3 separate regions of the Homo sapiens genome follow, and all the other regions are linked to region 3. Evidence: promoter capture Hi-C in human tissues and cell types (Jung and others, 2019). All regions are on one chromosome and are shown on one strand. The core of a region is centred on a gene start or on the middle of the fragment in contact, and the rest is flanking DNA. Distances in the headings are between cores, read along the strand shown.

The links. The method cuts DNA at HindIII sites, captures the fragments that hold promoters and counts their contacts. A contact is called where the count stands out against the background at its distance.
Region 1: a fragment that was not itself captured here is called in contact with the fragment with the promoter of FGF20 in region 3 in 1 of the 25 tissues and cell types used here (stomach).
Region 2: a contact is called between a fragment that was not itself captured here and the fragment with the promoter of FGF20 in region 3, in 2 of the 25 tissues and cell types used here (H1 embryonic stem cells and dorsolateral prefrontal cortex).

Annotation. Positions count from the first base shown.
Region 1 is chr8:16,809,778-16,814,459 of GRCh38, reverse strand. The region is part of intron 2 of LOC105379297 (a long non-coding RNA gene); the gene reads left to right. Among named protein-coding and RNA genes, the nearest start is that of FGF20, 190 kb to the left of the region's middle. The HindIII fragment of the contact is 6,554 bases long and covers 20-4,682 here.
Region 2 is chr8:17,159,589-17,162,513 of GRCh38, reverse strand. The region is part of intron 1 of ZDHHC2 (zDHHC palmitoyltransferase 2); the gene reads right to left. Among named protein-coding and RNA genes, the nearest start is that of ZDHHC2, 4.6 kb to the right of the region's middle. The HindIII fragment of the contact is 5,380 bases long and covers 1-2,925 here.
Region 3 is chr8:17,001,095-17,005,488 of GRCh38, reverse strand. FGF20 (fibroblast growth factor 20) reads left to right here and starts at 3,144. Exons shown (of 3, transcript NM_019851.3): 1 at 3,144-3,742. The coding sequence starts at 3,457. RefSeq lists a silencer at 3,558-3,627. The HindIII fragment of the contact is 12,794 bases long and covers 1-4,394 here.

The DNA of each region.
Region 1 (4,682 bases), core at 2,047-4,546, 190 kb after region 3:
CAAAGATGTTTAAAAATGCTTTCTTCAGTTTAACTCCTTTTTTTAGTGGTATGAGCCTCTTAGCCACCAAACTGTGAGTTTTATTGGTGTATATAATCACAGGAGAAAAATCTGTAAAATTTGAAAAATCCATGTTTCTTTTCTTCCTCAGACTCTCTCTTTCTTTCTCTCTCTCTTCCTTCATACATGCATATCATGTAAAATATACAAGATACTATACAATTAATCATTTGTTTGCTTATCTACCCATTGCTAAGCTATTAATTTTGAGGCCCTTGTTCATTGAGAAGTTGCTGGGACATTTGGGAAGGAATGCTTTTACTGCAAAAGAGAAACTTCAGATAATGTCATCTATATAGATTTTGGACTTTTACTTTAGTTACAGTAGGATTTTATCAAGCAATACGCTTTCTTTTACCAAATGTATGGCTTGAGAAAAGGATTTGAAAGGAATGGTTCATCCAGGGTCACTTAAGAGCTTCAAAATGACCCTAGAGGGCAACTGTGGCATTTGGATTACCAAAAGAAATAAACACGTCTAAGAAAATTTCAACTTGTTGTTATCTAAATTTAAGACATTGACAAGCATTTGACCTTGATGGTCCCAGTAAAAAGTGATGGTAAACATATGAAGAAGTATTGCTTTTCTTTGTTTCTCTTTCTCTATTGCCCAAACTTAAAGCAACATTGAGTAAGATTAGAAGTTTTTCTCTTATTTATATATAATAGTTGTACATAGTTTTTAGAACTTTTTGATTGTAACATTCTCAATGCTATCAGAAATGAAAAGGGCAGTATTCATTTCATATCTTGAACCACTAACATGCTGATTATTTAAATTTGTGTTCATAAGGTATAATAAAAGTGTTTTACATTTTAGAATTCTAGTTTCTTTCATGCAGAGGGTCTCTAGAAGGAAAATTCTAGAAAATGATACCATCACCTCTCTGTGATATCCCAATTTATTGTAGAACTTGGAATCCCATGTAAAAGAAATAAAAAATATTTAGTTTATTTTGGGTAGAATTAAGAATAAAATAATAAACAAAATTAGTATTAATATTCAGTATTTGACTAGGTGGAAATTATAGAATCTTCTACATAACCTTAAGGTCTGTATTTACCATCTCATTGCCAATTAATTATCAATTACTTAAGCAAATATTGCACCACTGTTTGCCAGGCTCTGTTATAGGCTCTTGTGATTTATAGGTTAATAAAACATATAAATTCTGCCCACCAAGCATTTACATATAAAGTGTACAAACATTTGATACATACTTATACTGTGTTGAAATGTATGTAAACTGGCTGGACTCGGTGGCTCACGCCTGTAATCCCAGCACTTTGGGAGGCCGAGGCGGGCGGATTACTTGAGGTCAGGAATTCAAGACCAGCCTGGCCAACATGGTGAAACCGTCTCTACTAAAAATACAAAAAAATTAGCTTGGCCTGGTGGTGGGCGCCTGTAATCCCAGCTACTAGGGAGGGTGAGGCAGGAGAATCGCTTGAACTCGGGAGACGGAGGTTGCAGTAAGCCAAGATGGAGCCATTGCACTTCAGCCTGGGCAAGAAGAGTGAAACTCTGTCTCAAAAAAAAAAAAAGTGTGTAAACATTTAATAGATTTTATAACACAGCAAATAATGCCAGTGGTGCATCTAAAAGGTTTAAGGAGCCATTGGAAACACAGCATATAAAGTCACAATGTTGGAGAGCCTTTTATTCATTATCCAACAAATATTTTGTGAACTTACCAAAGATGGAAATGCTATATTGAACACTTTCTGTACTGATTTTAGTGATTCTAAGAATCACAGATTTGTAAATCATATAAATGTAATAACCTGGTGTGGAAGATGGATGAGAAAAACTCAGTGACGGCACTAATCCATGCAATTGCTGTGATAATCATCAATAATGTAGTGCATTTTTTTTTTTCTTGATGAAGTGGACTTGTCAAGCCATAGAACAGTGTGGTTTATAGTAGCTAGAATCTGCACACACCATTTGGGTCAAGCCAAAATGTCCCTGATGGGCATCATGCTCTACTGGTCAAAGGAGAGTTGAAAAAGAAATGTTACTGTCCCCCCCGCCCCCAGGAATGTTTTTTTTTACATTGTGGTTTCAGAATGTCGCTAGAAAAATACAAATATTTTATTGAATGCTTTTATACATTGTGGTTTCAGAATCTCTAGAAAAATACAAATATTTTATTGAATGCTTTTTTATATTGTGGTTTGAGAATATCTCTAAAAAATACAATATTTTATTGAATGCTTTTTTATATTGTGGTTTCAGAATATCTCCAGAAAAATACAAATATTTTATTGAATGCTATTTTACTTTGTAGTTTCAGAATGTCTCTAGAAAAATACAAATATTTTATTGAATGCTTTTTTACATTGTGATTTAAGAATATCTCTAGAAAAATGCAAATATTTTATTTAAATAAAAAACATGACTTCACCAAGTAAATTATATATCCTACATTAATTTTAAAAACATTCTTGGCCGGGCACGGTGGCTCTCGCCTGTAATCCGAGCATTTTGGGAGGCCGAGGCAGGCAGATCATGAGGTCAGGAGTTTGAGACCAGCCTGGCCAACATGGTGAAACCCCGTCTCTACTAAAAATACAAAAAACAGCTGGGCGTGGTGGCAGGCGCCTATAGTCCCCGCTACTTGGGAGGCTGAGGCAGGAGAATCATCTGAACCCGGGAGGTGGAGGTTACAGTGAGCCGAGATCACGCCATTGCACTCCAGCCTAGGTGACTCTGACTCAAAAAAAAAAAAAAAAAATTGTAGGCTTTAAAAATATTATTAAATGATTTATTTATATATTTATATTTTTGCATTTAGAAATATGTTGAAAAAAGGAAAAAATTAGGTGAATTTAAGAACATATAAAAAAGATTTAAATATCTTCCTTCTACATTGATAAATAATAGAATCGATGGTTATTTAAATGACTATATCTGATTGTTTAGACACATTAAGTGAGGCAACTTAGCTCAGATAAAGTCACTCCAACAATCCCCTTCAAAAAGCCAGCAATTCACCCAAATTAACCATTTTAATAAAAGAGAACCTCTGTTCCTGTTGCTTTTATCACAGAATCGGGATGTGGGGGGTGAGGGACAAACTATAGAATAAGCTTTTATAAACACACAAAATGATATTTTCCTTTAGAATGGGAAAGGAAAGTTTCATTGAAAAGTACACATCTCAGGTAAAGCTAGTTTTACTTTTATTCTTCGTCTTCTTAAAGCTGGCTGTAGAGAAGCTCATTGTGTTGCCCTGTACTTTTTGTTCAAGGCACCTGAGCAATACACAATGTATCACTTATCGGTAGAACAAAAGACTCCTTCATCAGTCAGACTCGGGGGAAGAGGACAGCTGCAGACTCAGAACTGCACTAGGCAGGTACTTTGCTTGAGACAGAACAGGAAGTAGACCATTCACGTGGACCTTCATGTCTAACCCTATTTAATTTGACTCAAGCAAGATTAGTCTCTTTCAAAACGTATCTATGTTTAATGGTAATCTTAGATGTTTGTTTCTTATTAGAGACTTGGTTCAGAAAATGCAGAAAACGCGTTGTATTATGTGGGTTTTGCAGTAGAAACAATAGCTATTTTTATTTAGCTGAAGAGTGCTGCTATAGACAGATTTCTACATTGTAGAAAAATATCTTTATTGCAAAAATTACAATATAAAAATCATATTTTTTTAACTGAATGTAAGACCGAAGAAAATCAGGAAGGTTTTGTGCTATTGATAGTGTAAACGAACATTAAAAAAAAACTTTCATTGTCCTGCAAAGACACAATTAAAATTGACAGTTTAATCTAAATGCGAATCTTATCATTGAATATACTGTTTTTCCTTTAATGTATATGTGTGTGTGTGTATATATATATACACACACATCCTTTTAGGATTCTAAGACTATACTCAGATTTCCATTAAATTAAAAAAATCACTTTCGAAGGTTATTAAAATGTAGAAACCCAAATTCTTGAGAAATCATGAAAGAAATAACTGTTTCCTTAATAATTCAAGGATTTCTTAGCTGCTGTGTAGGCTACCCCCATGGGATAATTTAATACAGAATATTTCATGCAAGTCAGCAGTCATCACATTTTTCTTTCATTCTGTTGAGTGTGTCTCTGACATAAATGTTTGAGTAATCACACATTAGAATAATAAAATATATTGATGCTTATGCCATCATTTACTCCATGACAATAGTATAAACAGAATGTCGTCATATATTTGCAGTATGAATAATTGCAGGACCTCATTAATTTGGGGTGCCTTGAGGAAGGAAAGAGAATCTATATTAAAAAATTTAGAAAAACAAAAAAAATTTGTCAAACTACTTACAGGTATAGCCTGACTCTTAAGTGACTTAGAGACTTAAAGGCAGGGCATACAGCGGTTCTTGTTTGAATAAATAGTTCAAAATTGTTTATAGTTAGCATATTCATTTTTTGCCAGTGGATGCCTCTATCTGGTTGAAAACTTTTCTTTCTACAGTAATGTCTTGATCTCCTACAATATTTCTGGCACTGATTTGGATAAGGAGGATAGCTGTAAATAAAATGATTTATTTTCAGTAGCTTGATCACAAAGGCTGTGAGACATTTTGTATTAGTCATTTAAATCACTGAATGGTTAAAA
Region 2 (2,925 bases), core at 1-2,500, 160 kb before region 3:
ACAATTAATTATCTTGAATAAAGAAACCATCCCGTCAGCTTCTGTTTAATTACTGGAAACATTCCTGCAAGTACCAATTTAATGGCATGGATGACATTCTCAGTAAGCAATTGCAAGCGAACTTTTCCATAATAAGCCTCAGTTTAAACTGAGGTTTGACCCCAGATCCTGTCCTCTCACTTATTTGCATTATACAATTGAATAAGACTAAGTAGAAACTATGAGATTAATTCATTCAACATTTATTGCGCATTTGTACATGCTAAGACTGTGCTAATTGCCTTAAATGTTTTTCTCTAATAGGGTTTAATAGCAAATAGTAATGCTGCATTGTCCAGTACATCAAAAGAAAAGGAAGTCTCTGACACACTAAATGGAACCAAAAAAGCATTAAGCAGAGTCCTTTCTCTTACTCCCCTTTCCGACTTGACCATTTATATTAAAGTAAAATGGGAGCACGGATCAAGAGTTTGGAACATATCATGTTTTATACATTTGAATTTTTGATTTGAAGAAATGTTGAGTTTTTATTACCCTATTCACATAAATTCAAATCTTTAAAATATTCAACAATATCAAGAAAAGTCACAGAATATATTTTGAATCATATTGCCAACAACTAATAATTTCTTTTTTTTATTTTTTATTTTTTTGAGACAGGGTCTCGCTCTGTCACCCCAGGCTGAAGTGCAGTGGTGTGATCTCGGCTCACTGCAGCCTCTGCCTCCCCGGTTCAGGCAATTTCTTCTGCCTTAGCCTCCCGAGCAGCTGTGACTACAGGCACGCACCACCACACCTGGCTAATATTTGTATTTTTTGGTAGAGACAGGGTTCCACTATGTTGGCCAGGCTGGTCTCAAACTCCTGACCTCAAGTGATCCTCCCACCTTGGCCTCCCAAAGTGCTGGGATTACAAGGGTGAGCCACCGTGCTGGCCAATAAGTAATCATTTCTAAGGTGACGTAGGCGTTAAATGTTTTGCATACATCAGTTTTCTATGGATGTGCCTTACATTCCACTTAAAACTATTTTAATATTTAAAACAGTTGGCAAAACCAACTAATGGCAAAAACTGCAATTACTTTTGCATCAACTTAATAGAACATCTGTATTCCCAAGATCTACTGCCTGTTCTTTTTTTGTGAAAAATGCTTTATTGTCCTACACAGTTTTTAAAGTAATAGTTTAAGTATCAGGAATATCAAGATATTAATAATATAAAGCAACAGTTTAAAATCAATAACAAGAAAACATTTCTTCTTCTGTGTAGCTCAAATTCATTTCATGGTGGAAAACAACTGACAGCCCCAGCAGTCTCTATCCTTGAGCCTGCAGTGGCCTTCAATGAATGGTAGGTCATAACTTCACAGAATCCAAGTAGGAGGCTTTGTGTATTTTGTTCTTAGGGATGTTTGTTTTCTTGTTTGTTTAAAAGAATGAAAACATGGCAGCGTATCTCTCAAACTGATCCCTAAGTATTATAATCACTGTGGAATATAACAGGCTGCAATCACTGCTGAAGGATGTTTAGTAATAAAGACAGCAAAACTGCGAGTAAAACCTCAAGATTCTAGTGGTCTAGCTTCCCACATACTCCAAAGCTCAGCAAACTTTTGCCCAAGGGCCAAGATTGGCCAAATATTTTTGTTGAATAAAAGCCACGCCCATTTGTTAAAGTATCTTCTATGGCCGCTCTCTAAGATAGCAGAGTTGAGTGGTTGGAACAGAGATCACACGGCTTGCAAAGCCAAAAATATGTACTATATAGCCCCAAACTACAAAGCCCTTTAAATCTCTAAAATTGTGTAAAGACTGTTGGCTTATTTTCAGAGCTCTGTCAACTCTCTGTAAACGATAATAAAGTTAAAAAGAGTTGCTGCATAACTTCAATGGGCTAAGATATTTGGAGAGGGGTTTGCTGGGAAAAGGAGACATCTGGACATCTGCATTACAGCAGCTAAGGTCATAGCTGACACCTCCGCTAGGTAACTCGGAGGAAGGACATTGAACTTGTGGCAACTCTGGAATTTAGTTTAACTCTTTCGTTTAAAAATACAGAAGGGGTTAGCCTGGATGACCTTTAAGCTTTTGAAAATTCATGATCGTTTAAAATGACGTAACTAAAACCGTAAGCAAATTCAGAACTACATGACTGCGCAACATCATCATAAACGTCCCATAGCACCTGCCTAAGGAGCAGGAAAGTAATATATTTAAGAAAAATGGGAACTGAACTGGTTACACAAGTGTATGTGGAAGTTTCTTGTACTATTGAAACTTTTCAGTAAATCTGAAATAAAGAAAACGGTATGAAATAGTTAAAACAATTTAAATGTTAGCACTTAAAAGGGGAAACTTCAGTGAACCTTCTTCAACAAGCGAAGTTAACACAGCAGCAGCCATAAGGGATCTGTAAAACATAAACCACGTCGTGTGCTCGCTGAATGGAGCATGCCTGAGGCTGCAGACCTCCCTCATTCCCTCTCATAGTGCATCCTAAAGTTCCCCGTACAAATGTTACCTTTGAGTTTATCTTACTTGACGGAAACCAACCTAATATCTAAAGAGAGCAAAGAGAGTTAAAACACAAAAGAAGCCAGGAGTGGAGAGAGGGACAGGAGGGACAGGGGAGAGGGAAAAGGAGTGGTAAGAGAAGGAAAGGATGGAGGGGGAGGAATACAAATAGAAGAGCCTCGTTAATCAACAAACGAGATAAACGTGGTCCAAATGATTAGAAGTATAACTGTCTTTTGTGATCTTTTCTTTGGCAGAATAGGAAGCTGACTTAACCAAAAATACTTGACTCTCACACAATATATGTACATCCCATATATTTTACATATACACATATTCCAAAAAGAGAGGTTATTTTTATAAAATACAAACACTAAGCAAAAATTATGCTAACTGAAAAAGTGCCTAGAG
Region 3 (4,394 bases), core at 1,895-4,394:
TAATGTGCAAATATACTCTTACTTTATTGGAGATGTATATCATGACCATTAAATCAGCTCTATTTCTTTTTCTCATATTGAACACATGTAGCAGCCTCAAAAGGTATGAACTCCTCATGTGTAAAAACAAAGGTTCCTGACAATATATCATCTGAAAACCTATATAGGGATTATATAGTCTGGAAAACTCAAACTACATTTTGTGGAAGTAGAAGTTGTACCACGTATTTGTATAACAGCAAGGCAAGTGTGGTCTCTAGGAAGCATAGGTAAAGTTGATTAGATTGCAATGTATACTTAAAAGTTGAATAATGCACTCTTGTAAAACACTCTTCAAAATTATTTAACTTCCCATGATATCATCACAGCATGTGCAAAAAAAAAAAATCTTTAGTGTTATCTTTTCCTGTCACATGACTAGTGCAAACAAAAGAAATTCTTATCTTTTTGTTTCTAGTCTGGTCCTTTATAAAACAGCATTAAGCACCATTCAAACTTACACATTAAAGGTTTGGTTTGGGAAAAAAAGATTTATTTTGTATTTCAGACCAATTATATTTGTTAAGTTAGAAAGCAAAAATTTTCACAACAACTAGAGTTTTCTAGCATATTCTATGCATAGAAAACTATAGTTTTAAAACCATTTTCCAATATATTTTTACATTTAAGTCTCATGGCAACTCTAGGCATAGTAGTTAGGCTGGAGTTATATTATCCTTATTTTACAAAAGAGAAAATAAAAGCATTTAGAGAATTTAAGGAAATTGGCCTGGGATGTTGGACTCTGGGCAAAACGGGGATTTAGGACCATATTTTTTCGCTATAAAGCAGGATGTGCCTATGTCTTATGGTCATTGTGGTGATCAAATAAGGTAATACACATGTAAATACCAAGGTGTACAAAGAGAAGGCGATTCTATTATGAAAGTATTTAAACTTTCATGACTATGAATAAGAAATTCCCCATTTTTTGTATATATATAAGCAATACAACAGATTTGAACAGTCTAACAGCTATAGCTCATACAGCAGGACTAAAGTGTTCATGTGGGAAAATAGTTTGTAGACTGAACTAGTACTTTTAGAAGCAGGTGATGATAATATATTTCCATTGTGGAATAATTAACAGCATTATATGTTGCACAGAACTTGGACCTTGAAACAAACCTCATTAAAAGGCACTTGATCTAAGTTTAAAACCCTTAAGTATCTCCTCTTTAAAAGTGATCAGTGGATGTACTGGCTACTTCAGTTATCCTGCTACGAGATTCACACAACTTTGATCTAAGTTTCTTTGATTTAACACTGCAATTAAGAAGATTTGGTTCAAAGTAAAAGCTCATTGGTTGATGTTTTACACTGATGTGATAATGTTTACACAGATGTGTTTGAAACCTTGATTATGGTGGATTTGGGGTCCTACCACAAGACAGACTGCTGTTATTTGAAAGGTGAAATAATACAACATTTACCTGGTGCAACCTTTAAAACAGACTTAGCAATATACGTTTCTAAAGTGATTTATCTGTTTATTGTTTTTAGCCAGCGTTTTTGTTTTATTTCATATCTATCAACAGTAAATCACTTGCTTTAAGAACTCTTTTATAACTTGGTTACACAAGGGTCAGTAGTTAGGCCTGTAGTGATGAAAATGTGTAACTATACCCACTTTAGAGCACCTGCCAATTAATTAGAAAAAATCCTTCAGAGCAAATAAAATAAACCAGTCAAATCCAACTGAGCTGCCAGGCTTATGCTTTTTTTAAACAGATCATGAAACAAGACTGAGAAAGTAATCTTCATCAGTTCCCTAAAACTTTTTGCTCAGAGGAAGCATAAATCTGCCCAATGATTCTCAATTCTTCTACCACTGAAAAATTTTAACAGAAAGATCTTGAATTTAACTAGTGGTGCAAAACCAGTTTCAACGTTTAAATGAACATGTATCTAATTCCTTGGCTTCCATGGTTTTTGATTTTACAAATATGCTCAAGCACTCTTCAATTTTACCAGTAACTTTTGAAGTCTCAAAACACATCAAGCCTCAAGACTATTTCCATTTAGTTATTTTTAGATTTTATAATTAAAATGTAAACAAAAACATCTAGCTTTTAGAAAAACGCAACTAAGAAAAACAGGAAAGTGCTCTTAGATTGTATAAGGGCCCAAGAAGCCACTCATCATTTATGACAATATTCCAGATATTCATTTTCTATTCACGGCAAAATATAGAGATGCAAATCATTTCTTTCCAGCCTATTTGGATTTACTGTAAATCCTTTGATTCGTGATTATATTTTGCTTTATTTTACACTAATTAGAAGTTCATGACCTTAGCACACAATTAAAAATACATATGTGTATTATGTATATATATATATGGCAATTTTGGTTATATTATGTGCTGAGTAAAGGTAAACATTAAAGAGAAATTGTAAAGAGGGGGAGGGAGGGTGTTCCTTACCTAACCTTGATTATGTAAAGAAAATCCCCCATCTAAATGATAAAAGAAAGGAGCAATGCTTGTACATTTTATTAGTGTTTTAAAATTAGTGAGTTAAACTGTCAAAGCTTTGATTTTTCTTTCATGTGTGTCTGGGCAGGTCTGTAAGCCCCAGGTAACGCCCTTTTTCCTTCTCCCTTGCTTACCTTTCTTTGCACCTGTCCACTGCAGGCTCCCAAGGAGTCCAATTCTCCTTTTCTCTTTCCTCCTCCTACCAATGCCCTCCTTCTCTTTCTCTCCCTCCCCGCCTTCCCTCCCTCCTCCCTTCCTCTTCTTCTATATCCCTGCCAAGTTGGGCTCCTTTTAGAGGCGATTTATCACTGCAAAGCTCACATCAAAGACGGTTGCACGGCCGCAGCTGAACAGCATCACCGCTGTCCCAAGGACAACCCCAAAGAGGGGCCTCGACTGCACCTCCTCGAAGTTGCTGGCTGGCTTTGGCCAAGTGCAGGAATGGTTTTTGTGAGGGCATGGATGGAGAAGTGCCAAGGGCCCCTTTTGGTCACTTCCGAAGAGCAAAAACGTGTTGAGAGGAGACCGGTTTAAGATTTCAAACAGAACCTCCCCAGCGCGCATGAAAGGACTTGATTAGCATATGTCAAGAGGACCCGCTTATATACTCGGTGTGTATGTACACAGGACTCTGATCTGATCAGTTTGCGGAATTGGAGCCCCAGCCAACAGCCCTAGTCCTAGTATTGGCAGCGGCAGCTATAGATATTTCTGCAGAGCCAGCAGCCGGCTCCCACCTACCCAAGGAGAGAAGATCGCTCCAAGACAGTGAGAGCTTCCCTGCCATTTCAGTGCAAAGTCCCTCCGGAGCGACCTCAGAGGAGTAACCGGGCCTTAACTTTTTGCGCTCGTTTTGCTATAATTTTTCTCTATCCACCTCCATCCCACCCCCACAACACTCTTTACTGGGGGGGTCTTTTGTGTTCCGGATCTCCCCCTCCATGGCTCCCTTAGCCGAAGTCGGGGGCTTTCTGGGCGGCCTGGAGGGCTTGGGCCAGCAGGTGGGTTCGCATTTCCTGTTGCCTCCTGCCGGGGAGCGGCCGCCGCTGCTGGGCGAGCGCAGGAGCGCGGCGGAGCGGAGCGCGCGCGGCGGGCCGGGGGCTGCGCAGCTGGCGCACCTGCACGGCATCCTGCGCCGCCGGCAGCTCTATTGCCGCACCGGCTTCCACCTGCAGATCCTGCCCGACGGCAGCGTGCAGGGCACCCGGCAGGACCACAGCCTCTTCGGTACGTACTAGCATCCCGACCCCACCCCCATCTGCGCCCCAGCTCGGCTCCTCGTTCCCTCCCCTTGCACCTCCCTCTTTGCCTGCCAAGGGCGTCATCGCCGCGCGGAGCCCGGAGCTCCCCTGGACCCATCCGGTGCAAGACGCAGGCTGGGGCTGAAGGGCTGGCCAGAGCAGCCGCGGGGAGAAATTTTCCTGCTGGTTTGTCGCCGCAGCCTCTAGCAGGGCAGCAGCTCCAGATGCTGGGGGCGGGAGGAGAAAGGGTGGGCGCTTCGCAAGCTCCTTCCTGCCTTCCCCTTGCCCTTCCCACTGCCGGGGACACCAAGACCTGGTGCACTCGGCATCACGGTTCTCGCACTGCTTACCTCGCAGTCAGTTTTAAAAAAAATCCCTGTATGTTTCTCTCCGATTTCCTTTCTCATTTTCCCCCATGCCGTCCACTTTACAAAAATTAATAACAGGAAGCGCCGGGCTTCTTTAAACATGCCCCACAGTTATGCAGCTGATTATGCACCCGGGGCTGCTCTGGGCATGGATTGCGAGCATTTACGTGTCTACCTAGAGACTTGCAAATGTTCACCTGAAGAGGTAGCAGATTAACTTTCCGTGGGCACATTCGCTACCTGTAGGGCTCACCTGTCTGAGGTTCCCTC